5 separate regions of the Homo sapiens genome follow, and all the other regions are linked to region 5. The links are contacts of gene promoters, found by promoter capture Hi-C in blood cells and fetal thymus (Javierre and others, 2016). All regions are on one chromosome and are shown on one strand. Each heading gives the region's core, a stretch centred on a gene start or on the middle of the fragment in contact. The rest is flanking DNA. Distances are from core to core; before and after follow the strand shown. Region 1 has its middle 21 kb from the start of MRPL14. Region 2 overlaps SCIRT (stem cell inhibitory RNA transcript). Region 3 overlaps SCIRT (stem cell inhibitory RNA transcript). Region 4 has its middle 16 kb from the start of SCIRT. Region 5 holds the start of GTPBP2 (GTP binding protein 2).

Region 1 (2,957 bases), core at 106-2,605, 480 kb before region 5:
TCAGCCTCCCAAGTAGTTGGGATTACAGGCGCCCACCACCATGCCCAGCTAATTTTTGTGTTATTAGTAGAGATGGGGTTTCTTTTTTTTTTTTTTGAGATGGAGTTTTGCTCTTTCGCCCAGGCTGGAGTGCAGTGGCACTATCTTGGCTCACTGCAAGCTCCGCCTCCCAGGTTCACACCATTCTCCTGCCTCAGCCTCCTGAGTAGCTGGGACTACAGGTGCTCGTCACCACGCCCAGCTAATTTTTTGTGTTTTTTTAGTAGAGACGGGGTTTCACCGTGTTAGCCAGGATGGTCTCGATCTCCTGACCTTGTGATCCACCCGCCTCGGCCTCCCAAAGTGCTGGGATTACAGGCGTGAGCCACCGTGCCTGGCTGAGATGGGGTTTCAACATGTTGGTCAGGCTGGTCTCAAACTCCTGATCTCAAGTGATCTGCCTACCTTGGCCTCCCAAAATGCTGGGATTACAGGCGTGAGCCACCATGCCTGGCCCGAAAAATACTTTTGAATGGGGCCATACCTGTCCCGCCTGAGGGGCAGGAAGCAGCATTGCTTGTGAGGAGTTGAGAGAATTTCAGCTGCGCTGAGGAGCAGGACTTCCCAAGGCATGTGGACCAGGTGGTTGGAGTATGTGGTGCTGATGGGTCAGAGGGAGGCAGGATGTTTGTGAGCTGTGGTCTGAAACCTCTCCGACCCCTGCATTCCTCACTGGGTCTGAAAGCTTCAGAGCCCACCTCACTGCTTTTTCTTCTGAGTAGGTGCTTCCTCACTGGGATCCATGTGATTTCTGAACCCCCCTGGCAGACCTCTACCTCTATGCAGCACTTTCCAGTTTGCAGTGCCTTCACCTTTTAGTCCTAGAAAGTTTCTTCCAGCCTAGAACTTCTGTGACTCCAGGCCTTGGTGACAACTCTGAGTAGTAGGTAGGGCTGGTGTCCCTGTTTTAAAGATAGGAAACAGTAAGTAAGTGGTAGAGTTGGGCCAGTGTTCTCCTTCCTCTGTGGGGCCCAGGCTGAGCCCTGTTGGTCCTCAGCATAGCACTTCTTACAGCACTTTGAAACTGGGCAAGCCCATGGGCTCAGGAGCAGTCTCTGTCTTGTTCATAGTTCTATCGCTGATGCTTAGTAGATGCACAAAAATATGAGAGCTGAAAAGTTAAAATTTGTATTCTCAATTTAGGAGTCTGCATATAGACATCTAGTATAGGGGTTGGTAAAAATTAAGACATTATGGAGTGTCTACAAGGACCCATGGTGGACAGAGTTGCCTGTCTCCACATAGATCCTTATCCCAAGGGCTTCACCCACACTGGCCAGATGCCCAGTGTTTTCTGTTTCCCCATTAAACTCCAGTTTATGACTCCAGTTTAAGATATTCTATGATGTCTATAACTGCTTAAGCTGGCACGTATTTTTACTCTTCATGTTTAGGGGGAAAAAAAAGGCTGTACAAGAGATAAGGCAGTGGTTCTCAGCTGGGGACATTTGGCAATGTCTGGAGATAGTGTTGGTTGTCACAACTGGGGGCAGCATCTAGTGGGTAGAGTCCAGGGATGCTGCTGGCCATGCTACAATGTGCAGGACTGCCCGCACAACAAAGAACTCCCTGGCCCCAAGGGTTGACAGTCTTAAGGGTGAGACTAGGTGGGACCTGTTGTGTATAAGGAGGACAGAGAGCATCTGGGAGTCATAGTGAGCCAATGGTTCATAAATAGTGGTGTAGAATTACAGGAATGAAGCCACATTGCAATCCATGGAGATATGCACTTGATCACTGTTTATCTGCTGATTGCCATGATTTGGGCCCTAAAGCTGGAGTAGGTGTTGGAAAATGTAGAAAGGCTGCAGTTTACTGAAGGGTTGAGGCCAGCAGTCAAGGCCATCGGAGGATTGGGGCCATTTGGCTCACAGAGTGAGGTGGGGAGAACTGGTCCACATGATTGCATGTGCAGTGCTCTGGGTGGGGGGTTGAGGCCAAAGCTTTAGCTTGGGCTCAGCCACTGGCTCGCATCTCAGGTCACTTTAGCTGGTCACATTTCTCAGAGCTTTGGTTTCTGCCTCTGCCCTTACCTCTCAGGACTGTCTTAGCAGTGGCACCAGCAACCTTCCTGCCTTACAAATCTTACAACTTTGGAGTCACTTTTGGGTTTGTCCTACTTTTCTCTTTTCTTTTTTTTTTGGAGACGGAGTTTCACTCTTGTTGCCCAGGCTGGAGTGCAGTGGCACGATCTCGGCTCACCACAACCTCCACCTCCCGGGTTCAAGTGATTCCCCTGCCTCAGCCTCCCGAGTAGCTGGGATTACAGGCATGCGCCACCACACCTGGCTAATTTTGTATTTTTAGTAGAGACGGGGTTTCTCCATGTTGGTCATGCTGCTCTCAAACTCCAGACCTCAGGTGATCCACCTGCCTTGGCCTCCCAAAGTGCTAGGATTACAGGCGTGAGCCACCGCGCCTAGCCTCATTTTTGTTTTTTACGAAGTCCTGTCCATTCTCCTACAGCAGCAGTGCTGTTCCTTTTCCTTCTGGAACTTCACATTTCAATCCAGGGCTCTGACCTGGTCTTGGCATGCTGCCAACTTCTTGCGACAATCTGGCTGCCCACCGAGGTAGAAACCACATCTCTTTCAGCCTTGGTCTGTGGCATATGGTAGTAGGAACAGACAAGAGAAACCAATTTATTGAGGGCTTGCTTTATGCCAGTTTTGTGCTGGACACTTTGCATATTCTCTTCCAAGTCTTCACAATGATGCCGTGTGATTATTGTATCTGATTTATGTGTGAGAAAACCCAGGCTGAGAAGAGTTAAGGGACTTGTAGTCAAGTGGCAGGCTGAGATTTGAAGTCAGGACCACCTGACCACATTTCTTCTGCTTTTTCTGCTGCACTGACCTGTGGTGGAAATATTTCTTGGTAATGTGCCTTCCCTCAGCTATTAAAATAGTTTTCCGGAA
Region 2 (2,855 bases), core at 122-2,621, 420 kb before region 5:
TGGATATGCAGGTGAGTGGAGCCATTTGGCCACGTTTCCTGGGACCCCTCTGAGCCAGCCACTGGGCCTTGCCTTTAAGAGACTCCCAGGACAGTGAGATGACTGTGCACAGGAGGCTTGAGGAATGAGTGCTGAAGCCAGCAAATATTTACTGAGCACCTGCTCCAAGCCAGGCCCTGGGCTGGGCAGGGGACAGCAAAACTGAATAAATAGACATGGTGCAGTTCCTCATGATTAGAGGCACATACGAGTTCCAAAGTCAGCTGATCAGGTTCAAGCCCTGGTCTGATGCTCTTTTGGGCAAGGTATTTAGCCTTTCTACACCTTGATTTTTTCTATCTGGAAAATGGGGATGCTAATAGTACACAACCATGGGGTTGTAGTAAGGATGAAATGAGTCAGTGTTTAGAGTGCAGGGCGTGGTCATTGCAACTTTCATTTTGTGAGCACTAACTCTGTGCCAGAAAGTGTCATGGCATTTGATGAAAACCACGTCCCTTACAGAGAAGGAGAGAGCACTTCTGGCTGAGCTGAGAGAGAGGCTTCATGGAAGAGCTGGTGCCACAGTTTGGTCTTGAAAGATGGAGTTAAATTCCATAGGTGGCAATGGGGGAGGGCGTTCCAGGAGGGGGAACAGCATGGACAAAGGCATGGAGGCAGAAAGACAAAAAATGTGCTGGGGGAACTCCAAAAGGACCAGTGAGACTAAAAGGCAAGGGAGATAAAACTGGAAAGTAGGCTTAGGCCAGATGAACATCTAGACCACAGAATGTGGCCTTTGTCCTGTAGGCAAAGGGGAGCCGTGATGGTTGCTGAGCAAGGGGATCTCGAAGGGAGATGAAACTGCTGATTTCAATAAGGCAGCAGAGTTAGTTTCCTTAGATGATAATAACAACAAGAATGATAATCAGAAACATTTCATTTTGTAGATTCTAAAGTTCGCTGAGCATTTTCATGGGCACAACCTCATCTGATCATTATGGCAACACTGTGGGGTGAGTTGAGCAGGGATTATTGCACCCACTTTACAGAGAGGAGGATGGGGCTTATCTGAGGTTACCTAGCAGGTTGATGGCAAAGTCAGAAGCTAACGTGGGTCTCCTGGCCAGCATCAGCATGGATGGCCCAGTGTGAGTGAGGGACATAGGTCCCCATCTCATGGCTGCCCAGGGGAAATGGACCACCTTCTCAAGCCCCATCCTTAAGCTTGAAAATGTGTTTGTGTGTGGAGGGGGTCGTAAGGATGTCTGTGCAGAGAGCCTTCCAGTCACGCCAGCACCAAATCTTCTGTACTTCTGGCCCATTGCCAGGGGCCAGCACGCACTAGGCCAGCACGCATCTAACCTCTGCTGATTGGTACCGAGAGCATTGGTGATTTGGGCAGGGGGTTGGCTGCACCACTGCCAAGAGGCTGGTGAACTGCTGCAGGGGTTTGGGGAAGACATACACATAGCCCTACGCTTTTAGTGAGTCCTTCACCTCTGTAGAAGCCTCTCCCAGCTGAGCAGCAGCCAAGGCAGATGGAGGGAAGCTTCCCATTCACCTTCTCTTCTGCTGGGACTGTTCCCTGACCCCCCTGGGTTCCTGCCCCAGGACTGGGAGTCTGGCTTCTGATGGCCCAATCTTAGCTCTTCCCTCTCCTTGGATTCTGCCTGCTGGCTGATACCCTTCCACACTGAGGCCTTCCTCCTCTGATGTTCATTTCCAGGTCCTGGTCCCCAGCAGGGCCTAGGGTGAGAAAGGAAACAGTAGAACCCCTGGCTTCCCGAGCCTGCTCCATCCCGAGTTCTCAGCAGGGCCAGGCTGGCCTATCTTTCTAGAGGACCCAGCACAGGGCCTGCCTCAGAGTGCAGCCCAGGTAGCACCTGCTGGTTCTGTCTGCCAGGGCCCCAGCCTTCATGGGAGGCCAAGAGCCTTAGGGGAACGGACAGTGAACCCAAAAAAGTACATTGTGATATAAGCCAAAGGGTGGCCCCAGTGAAAGGCTTTGTAGGAGTTTGGAGCAGGTGAGGTTGTGGAGGCAGTCAGGGACTTCCTGGAGTGGTGTCCTGGATTAGAGCTCAGCCTTCCCTGAAGGTGGTGGGGCTTGGTTAGGGGAAGGGGTCTATACAGAGGATTCTTTCCAGAGGGTGGGGAGCCAGACTTACCGTGCCATATGAAGCAGTGGGTTGAGGGGCATGAGCAGAGGGGTGTGGGCATGCTTGCCTCAGGCCAGCCCTGGAAGGTGTGCAAAATGGCCCTGGGTAGTGATGGGCTGTTGACTGATTGATCGATTCATTTATTCAAGTTTATCCAGCACCTCCTCTGTGCCAGGTGCTGTGCTTGGGGCTAGGAGCTTAATGATGAGTAAGACAGATGTATCCCTTCCCTCCTGAGCTCCTGGTTGAGATGGGAAGGCTGAGGAGCAAACAGACTGTTTCAACACACTGTGATCAGTGCCAGGACAGAAGAGATACAGTGTCCCCTAGAGCAGAGAGGAGGCTTCAGCTTGAGACCCGGGGGTGGATCTAGGAAGACTTTCCAGGAGAGGTGGAGCTGAGATCTGCAGGATGATGAGTGAGCTGGGAGTGGGGGTGAGCATCCCAGAACTGGGAGAGGGGTGGCATTCCTTTCAATGGGTGAGGATCATGACATGGGGAGGGGAAGAGGAGGCGAGGTGCAATGGCAGATCTTGCATGTTGTGCTGCATTAAGGAATTATCCGGAGGGCACTGGGAAACGTTTGAAAGGTTTTAAGCAAGGGCTGGATGGGATCCGATTTGTGTTTTGGAAAAAACCTCTTTGGCTCAGGTAGAGAACAGGTTGGAGGGCACCTGAGTTGTCCAGGCTCAGTTCCAAGACAGGGAAGAGCCCCTC
Region 3 (2,700 bases), core at 129-2,628, 440 kb before region 5:
CTGAAACCTTAAAAAGAGATATTTTGGATAGGAATCACTAGTGGATATTACACGCTTTCCGGGCTTTTAATCAGAGGTTACAGAACATGTGAGTCTTCATGACTCAGGGTTGTGGTTACAAGGGTCCATCAGTATCCTGGTTGTAATACAGTGAAAATCCAAGGCCTTTTTTGGCCCCACACCAACGGCTCATTCCATGAAGGCTACATTTTCGTAGTTCTTGTGTCTACTTTTATAGTACTTTATCACTTCATCAACTCTCTCCGTATAAACTATCACTTCTGTTACCATCACTTTGCCTGCCTCCAGGGCAGACCACCAAACCCACCCTATTCTCAACTTGTTTCTGTTTGGCTGTGGGCTGAGATGTCCGAAAATCACATCTGTTGGAAGATGTGAAAAACAACGAGATCTTTTGAACTTGACAAATTATATTAAAGTTCATCTGGAGAAATAAACATGCAAAAAGAGCTTGGAAAATCCTGAAAAAGAAGTATTATAAGGGACGACTAGTGCTACTAAAATGTTGTAGAAAGCTCCAATAATAAAATAGTTGGGTACTGGCACAAGAACAGACAGGCAGATCAAAGGAGCAGAGTAGAGGCCAGACACACACCCGTGAACAAATGGAAATTAAATATATGATAAAATGACATTTTAGATCAGAGGAGAAAAGATGAATTATTCAATCAAATTGGACAACTGGTTAGCTGTTAAGGGGGAAAAAAAAGAAATCCAGCTCCCCACTTCATCTCTTATTCTGAAATAAATCCCGATGGAGTGAAGATTTAAATGTAAAAAGGAAACCATAAAATTACTAGAAGAAAACATCTGAAAGTCTAAAAGTGTATGTTCTTGGATTGGGGAAAGTTTGACACAAAACCTAGGAGTCACAAAGGGAAAGAATTTTTTAAAATTGGCTGTATTAAAATATGACGTAGGGTGTTGTGTTACATGCCTGTAGTCCCAGCTCCTTGGGAGGCTGAGGTGGGAGGATAACTTGAGCCCAGGAATTTGAGGCCAGCCTGGGCACCACAGTGAGACTCCATCTCTGAAAAAAAAATGTGTTTTTAATGTAATATCCTGAATTCTAAAGACAACCGTCTGGAAAAAATATTTTTAACATAGATGACCGATGAGTTTTTACAAGTCAATAAGGAAAATAAAAACGAATAGAAAAATGGGCAAAGCACATAAACCGGTAAGGGGATACTAATGGTTAACAAGCAGGTGAAAATGCTCACCCTCAGTCAAAATAGAAGAAATCAAAATGAAGACATGAGAAGATTCTCTTTTCGCCAATTTGATTGACAACAACTAAAATGGGCAACCCCTCACTGTGTGGACACAGACATCCTCAGAGCTGGGGGGGAGGACAGTTGCACCTGTGAAGGGGATTGGCAGTATACATGAGAAGAATTAATTCACAAACCATGGACTCGAGGGTTCCATATCTAGGAATTTATCAGATGCACTGTTATAAATGTCACAAGTGTTCAAAGTATACATACAAGTGTGTTCATTGCAGTTTTGCTTCCAAACCTGAAAAACTGGAAGCAACATTAAGTCCATTAATAGGGCACGGATTGGATATGTTATGATGCCTCCAAACACCAATAGTATGCAGTGGTTGAAAAGAGTGAGGTTGAGGTTGTGTGTTGATATTCACTAAGTAGAAAAGCAAGTGGCAAGACATTCCTTGGGTGGTGCTACTCCATGAAGGGTGTGCCCTCTGCCAGCATGGGCATGGAGCCTATTAGAAATCCAGAATCTTCAGCCAGTTGCAGTGGCTCATGCCTGTAATCCCAGCACTTTGGGAGGCCAAGGCAGAAGGATTGCTTGAGCCCAGGAGTTCAAGACCAGCCTGGGCAGCATGGCAAAACCTCTCTACAAAAAATTAGCCTGTAGTCCCAGCTACTAGGGATGCTGAGGCAGGAGGATCGCTTGAGCCTGAGAGGTGGAGGTTTCAGGGAGCCAAGATGGTGCCACTGCACTCCAGCCCAGGTGACAGAGAGAGACCCTGTCTGAAAAAACAAACAAAAAAGAAACCTGGAATCTTGGGCCACCGTAGAACTACGGGATCAGAAACACTAGGGCTGGAGCCCAGCAGTCTGTGGTTTTAACATGTTCTCTGTATGATTCTGATGCATACTCGTGTTTGAGAAGTACTGATGAGGAGTATGTCACTATATGTGTAAAAAATGGATAAAAACCAGTTAGCCCTTCTGCCTCTAAAATTTCAGAGTCACCAGAAAGGGCTTTCCATGACCAGAGTGAGAAGGGATGGAAAAGTCCACTTTTCACTTTATGTGTTTCTGAACTGTTCAGACTTTTTGCCACGAGAATATATTACTTTGGTTTTTTTAAAAAGTAGTTAACTCTGGAGACTGAGGCAGGAGAATCGCTTGAACCTGGGTAGCGGAGGTTGCAGTAAGCCGGGATCAAGCCACTGTGCTCCAGCCCGGGTGACAGAGCGAGACTCCGTCTCAAAAAAAAAAAAAAAAAAGTAGTTAATAAATAAAAAAAGCTACCCAAATGGAGAAAGAAAATGTGGTACATACATACAATGGAATATTATTAAGCCTTAAAAAGGAAGAAAATTGTGACACATGCTGTAACAGGGATGAACTTTAAGGACATTGTGCTAAGTGAAATCAGCAAATCACAAAAGGACAAATATTGTATAATTCCACTTTAATG
Region 4 (2,700 bases), core at 123-2,622, 460 kb before region 5:
AAAAAAAATACAAAAATGAGTTCTTGTGATGGTGTGCCCATGTAGTTAGCTACTTGGGAGGCTGAGGTGGGAGGACTGCTTGAGCTCAGGAGGTTGAGGCTGTGGTGAGCGGAGATCATGCCACTGTACTCCAACCTGGGTGACAGAGTGAGACCCTATCTCAAAAAAAAAAAGAAAAGAAAAGAAAAAAAAAGAAAATGCTTCTTGACTGTCACCACCCCCCAGTTCCACACCGCTCCTCAGTCCCTGACTCCCAGCCCCTGGCAGCCAGCAATCTGCATTCTGTCTCTAAAAATCTCCCCATTCTGAACATTTCCTATAAATGGGATTGTACACTATATGGCCTTTTGTGTCTGGCTTCTTCTACTCAGCATAATGTTTTCAAGGTTCATCCATGTTGTAGCATGTGTCGGTATTTTGTTTCTTTTTATGAGACTGAATAATATTCCATTGTATGGATATACCCACATTTTGTTTATCCATTCATCAGTGGTGGACATAGGGGTTGTTTCCACTGTTGGGGTTGTGAATAGTGCTGCTGTGAACATTCTTGTGCAAGCTTTTGTCTGAACAAGTGTATTTAATTTGTTTTAGTCTATACTAAGAGTGGAATTTCAGGGTCCTGTCGTGCTTCTGTGTTTAGCTTAAGGTGGAACTGCCAAACTTCCACGGCAGCTGTACCCTTTTACATTCCCACTAGCAATGTGTGAGGGATCTCATTTCTCCACATCTTCACCAACACTTATATTTCATTAAAGATTTTTTATTATAACCACCCTAGTGGGTGTGAAATGATAGCTCATTGTGGTTTTTATTTGCATTTCTTAATGACATCAATCATCTTTGCCCTTCACTCTTTGGGGGGTCACAGGAAGGCCTCTCTATGCTATGCCTCCATGCCTCAGAGTCATCTGTCTAGGGGTGGTGTGAGGGTTAAATGAGAAAATCATGTGAAGAACTCAGCATCTACGCCAGGCACATAGTAGGGGCTCTTAAGACCAACTCAGGCAGTCCCAGGCCTGCCCCTGTCAGCTGGTAGGGAGGCTGGCCACTCAAAGGACCTCCCGGCTCTGACCAACGCGTAAGTTAGAGCTGCTCCCACGGCCTGGCAGTCCCCTCTGCCCACTCTGCCTCCACTGTCCTGGACTTCCTGGGGAACTGTGATCTTTCAGAGGCTGGGATGACATTTATGGAAGGTGGCAGGTCCCCTCCAGCCCTTTTCCATTTTCATGGACCCTCCTGGCCCCTGGGTGCCTTCCCTTCTAGGTGGTCTCTCAGCACTGCCCTCTGCTACTGGAGCATGATGGGAAGTGCCTGGAAATCTATCCCCTCCATGGTGGCCCTTAGCCAATGACTGAGGTGCAGGAGAGTGAGGTCCCAGCTCCCTTGCCTGGGGCGAGGACAACCCTGAGGTGTAATTTACACTCCCAAGTTCCCCTGCGAGATCAGGCAGAAGTCACCCTCTGCAGAATTTTGCCTGAATCTGCACCCTTCTTGGCCTCTTACTTTCTTGTCTTGCTCCCCGAGTCCCTCTCCAGTTTCCCTGGGAGCACTCCCAAATCATTTAGCTATGAATCCTCATCTCAGGATCTGCTTCTGGGGAACCTGATCTAAGACATGGAGCACCTACTGTGTGCCAAGCCCATGGCAAATGCTCAAATAGACAAAGATAAATAAGATGCAGTTCCTTCCCCCAAAAGAGCGCATGACTTGGTTGGGGTGGTCCTGATCACAGTAGTAATGCTAATAGCCCATGTTGTGCACCTTCTATGTGCCAGGCCCTAGGCTGAATGCTTTACATACATTAGTTCATTTAAACTTTCTAGCTTTTTCCGGTTCTAGGTGCTTTAGCAGCTGCGGCTTAAGGTGCAGACATGGCAACGTCAAGAACCACAACACACACAACCAGTCCCCAAAATGGCACAGAAATGGCATCAGGAAACCCCGATCACAAAGATACAAATGTCTTAATGGGGTGGACCTCAAGTTCCTAAGGAGCATGCACCTTGCCAAGAAGCACAACAAGAAGGGCCTAAAAAAGATGCAGGCCAACAATGCCGAGGCCATGAGGGCACGTGCTGAGGCTATCAAGGTCCTCGAAAGCCCAAGGAGGTTAAGCCCAAGATCCCAAAGGGTGTCAGCCGCAAGCTCGATTGACTTGCCTACATTGCCCACCCCAAGCTTGGGAAGCGTGCTCGTGCCTGCATTGCCAAGGGGCTCAGGCTGTGCCGGCCAAAGGCCAAGGCCAAGGACCAAACCAAGGCCCAGGCTGCAGCTCCAGCTTCAGTTCTAGCTCAGGCTCCCAAAGCTGTCCAGGCCCCTACAAAGGTTTCAGAGTAGAGATCTCTGTCCGCCAACATAAGGACAGAAGGACTAGTATGACCCCCCTGGGCTGCCATCTGCATGGGGCTGGTGTCCTCCTCTGCCATTTGTACAAATAAACCTGAGGCAGGAAAACAAAAAAAAAAGCAAAACAAAAAACAAAAAACAAACTTCTAACAACTTTGCAAGGAGATGCTATTATCACCCCACTTTACGGATGGGAAAACTGAGGCCCAGAGAGGTGAACTAATCTGTGGTCCAGGGTTTTACAGCTTGGAAGTGGCAGCACCCACCCTGAGACCTGTGCTCTTATCCACTCCTCTTTCAGCATGTTTCAGCTGGGAGCGGATGCCCCAGCTGCTTGCATTCAGTAGACCA
Region 5 (2,918 bases), core at 150-2,649:
CAAGCGATTCTCCTGCCTCAGCCTCGCGAGCAGCCGGGATTACAGGCATGCGCCACCACGCCCAGCTAATTTTTGTATTTTTAGTAGAGACGGGGTTTCGCTGTGTTGGCCAGGCTGGTCTCGAACACCTGACTTCAGGTGATCCGCACACTCCTTGGCCTCCCAAAGTGCTGTGATTTACAGGCGTGAGGCACCGCACCCGGCTGAGTTGTTTAATTTCTTGACCGTGTATGAGCACCTCGCAGTTCGAGAAGAGGGGAGAAGTGGACACACTGTGAGTGGTCTGAGTCATGAGACAGCCATGCGGCTGTGAATTGAGCCCTAGCGTCCTGACTCGCAGCTCAGCAACATAACTGCTTTTCCACCCTGCCTTTCTGTGTTCTGTGCACTGGCTTATGTCGCTGAATGTATGTACTCTGTAGAGTGCAACAGCACTAAAGAGCTGGAGATTGCTTCACAAGAGAGTCAAAAGCCAAAAATCCCCTGTGGCCCTAGGCCAAGTTTCTATTCCCGGCCACTGCCCCGCCCTCGTGGTGGTTGGTGTAACCCGAGCCCTAGCCCCGCCCGAAGTAGGGGCCAGGCCCCTCCTACAGTCTTGGCCGTTTAAAACCAAACTCAGTTCTTCCCGATTGGTTCTGCTTCAAAACAAAGGGGAGGAGGAATACTCGCTTTGGGTATGCTTGCAGCCTTCGGGGAGGAAGCTGGTTTACGGGTTCGGGTCTCGTGTCGGGGCCACCGCGGTGCCTCCGGTTATTAAAACCAGCCCCTGGACGGTGCCAGCCTGGTAATAAAGCAGTGACTACTATGTAAAGGTAGCATAATCATCCCAACAATAACAGCCGTAATTTGGCTAATCACCATCCGCCTCCGCCCTGGCGTTCGCCCTGACTCACCCCAGCGGCACGCGGGCCATAGGGGAAGAAACTGAGGCAGAGGCGGAGCCAGCAGGCTGGCGGCACCAGTAGCCTCAGTTCTGCAGCTCTCGAGGTCCAAAACCTGTTGTCTAGGATCCGCGCTAAAGGGCCAAATCCCGGAGCGCCCACAAAGCTCGATTCTGATGTAAGCTCTTCTACGCTGGTGTCCTCGCGTCCCCACCCCAGGCCTCGAGGCTCTAAATTCCCCCCAAGTCCTAGAAAAAGAACATAGCGCGAGGACTGGAAGTCAGACTACAGCTCCCTTAAGCCTTTGCGCGCCAAGGCGCGCTCCTTCCCCACGCCTCCGACGACTCCCGCGGCCACTTGCGCCGCGATGCCTCCTGGGAGTTGTAGGGCGGCGACGTGTCATTTAAGTGAATTCCCAGGCCTGGGGACTCTATATCCCGTGGTGCCCCGCGGCTGTTTCTGACGCGACCCGGAGGCCAGGGAGGTGGGGGGCGTAGCTTGTGCAGAGCCCCACCCCACTCTGCTCAGGCCGGCCGGACACGGCAGTGGCAGTAAGGGCGGCGGCGACGGCGGCGGCGGTCGGGGGAGGGGCCGGGCGGGGGGCTGGCGGCAGCGGCGGATGGACTCGCGGGTATCGGAGCTGTTCGGCGGCTGCTGCCGGCCCGGAGGGGGCCCGGCCGTGGGCGGAACCCTCAAGGCTAGGGGGGCCGGCAGCAGCAGCGGCTGCGGGGGGCCAAAGGGAAAGAAGAAGAACGGAAGGAACAGAGGGGGCAAAGCCAACAACCCCCCGTATTTGCCCCCCGAGGTGAGCACCTGAGAAGTGGTAGGGCGGGAAGAAGCCACTCTTTCCGGCCCAGGACTCTAGGGAGGCGGGACCCAGATAATTAATCTCCCCTTCCGGTGTCGAGACCCCAGGGAGGAGGGGCACGGGAGGAGAACACCTCTTTCAGGTCCCGGGACCCCAGGGAGGAAGGGCAGAGACTGGACTCTCAGGTGACAGGACCTCAGGGAGGAAGAGTGGAGAGGGAGGACTCCCCCTTCTGATCTAGATTACCCCAGGAGAGAAGTAGAGAAAGGGGATCCCAGGAAGAGCACCCCGACCAACTGCGTGTGCCGCCATAGGGCAAGAGAGACTGCATCCTGGGACGAGAGGCAGACAGTAACCACCACTTCTTCTAAACTTGTTCCACAGGGAGAAGGGGAGTACCCGGGAAAAGAGCAATATGTTCCACACGGACACACACACAGTACTCGGGAAAAGAGCAGTATGTTCACTACACACACACACACACACACACACACACACACACAGCCTAAGCCAGTGGTTATCAAACTTTGGCATGTATCGAATCACCCGGATTGCTGGCCCCCAACGCCTGGCCAATTTTATTTTTTTATTATTTATTTATTTATTTTTTTTGAGACGGAGTCTCTGTTACCCAGGCTGGAGTGCTGTAGGGCTATCTCAGCTCACTGCAACCTCGGCCTCCCGGGTTCTCAAGCGATTCTTCTGCTGCAGCCTCCCGAGTAGCTGGCATTACAGGTGCCCGCCACCACGCCCAGATAATTTTTGTATTTTTAGTAGAGATGGGGTTTCACCATGTTGGCCAGGCTGGTCTCAAACTCCTGACCTCAGGTGATCCACCCGCCTCGGCCTCCCAAAGTGCTGGGATTGCAGGCGTGAGCCTCCGTGCCCAGCCTAGAATTTCTGATTCTTTCTTACTAGTGAGGATGGGCCTGAGAATTTGCATTTCTTATAAGTTCCCGTGTGATACTAATGCTGCTGGTCCCAGGACCTCACTTTGGGAACCATTGGTCTGGGCCCTAGACTGTCATTCTTGTACCACATTTTTTGAAGCCACCCATCCCCAGAAAAATGATTAAAAGGTTTTTATTGATGGGGAAAAAAAATAATCTCCTTAACACACCATGAAGTGGAGATTATGAGTGAAGACCTGTTAGGGCCTGGGAGCCAGACAGCCTTGAAGGGATGGAATGATAGGAAGGGAAGAGGAAAACTAAAATATCCAGAGAGGC

The links. The method cuts DNA at HindIII sites, captures the fragments that hold promoters and counts their contacts. A CHiCAGO score of 5 or more calls a contact.
Region 1: a contact is called between a fragment that was not itself captured here and the fragment with the promoter of GTPBP2 in region 5, in 1 of 17 cell types (erythroblasts). The highest score is 6.6, in erythroblasts.
Region 2: a contact is called between a fragment that was not itself captured here and the fragment with the promoter of GTPBP2 in region 5, in 1 of 17 cell types (erythroblasts). The highest score is 6.2, in erythroblasts.
Region 3: a fragment that was not itself captured here is called in contact with the fragment with the promoter of GTPBP2 in region 5 in 4 of 17 cell types (erythroblasts, neutrophils, M2 macrophages and 1 more); the score reaches 7.4 in erythroblasts.
Region 4: a fragment that was not itself captured here is called in contact with the fragment with the promoter of GTPBP2 in region 5 in 8 of 17 cell types (erythroblasts, M1 macrophages, neutrophils and 5 more); the score reaches 9.4 in erythroblasts.

Annotation. Positions count from the first base shown.
Region 1 is chr6:44,104,926-44,107,882 of GRCh38, reverse strand. No RefSeq gene overlaps it. Among named protein-coding and RNA genes, the nearest start is that of MRPL14, 21 kb to the left of the region's middle. RefSeq lists enhancers at 1-469, 1,307-1,476. The HindIII fragment of the contact is 1,258 bases long and covers 727-1,984 here.
Region 2 is chr6:44,046,958-44,049,812 of GRCh38, reverse strand. The region is part of intron 1 of SCIRT (stem cell inhibitory RNA transcript); the gene reads left to right. Among named protein-coding and RNA genes, the nearest start is that of SCIRT, 26 kb to the left of the region's middle. RefSeq lists an enhancer at 526-675. The HindIII fragment of the contact is 325 bases long and covers 1,209-1,533 here.
Region 3 is chr6:44,069,313-44,072,012 of GRCh38, reverse strand. All of the region lies in intron 1 of SCIRT (stem cell inhibitory RNA transcript), which reads left to right. Among named protein-coding and RNA genes, the nearest start is that of SCIRT, 4.0 kb to the left of the region's middle. The HindIII fragment of the contact is 6,470 bases long and covers 1-2,700 here.
Region 4 is chr6:44,088,882-44,091,581 of GRCh38, reverse strand. It overlaps the pseudogene RPL29P16. Among named protein-coding and RNA genes, the nearest start is that of SCIRT, 16 kb to the right of the region's middle. The HindIII fragment of the contact is 1,622 bases long and covers 562-2,183 here.
Region 5 is chr6:43,627,745-43,630,662 of GRCh38, reverse strand. GTPBP2 (GTP binding protein 2) reads left to right here and starts at 1,399. Exons shown (of 12, transcript NM_019096.5): 1 at 1,399-1,686. The coding sequence starts at 1,501. It also overlaps a transcript of MAD2L1BP not described here. RefSeq lists enhancers at 370-589, 1,210-1,389 and silencers at 1,450-1,589, 1,610-1,689. The HindIII fragment of the contact is 21,691 bases long and covers 1-2,918 here.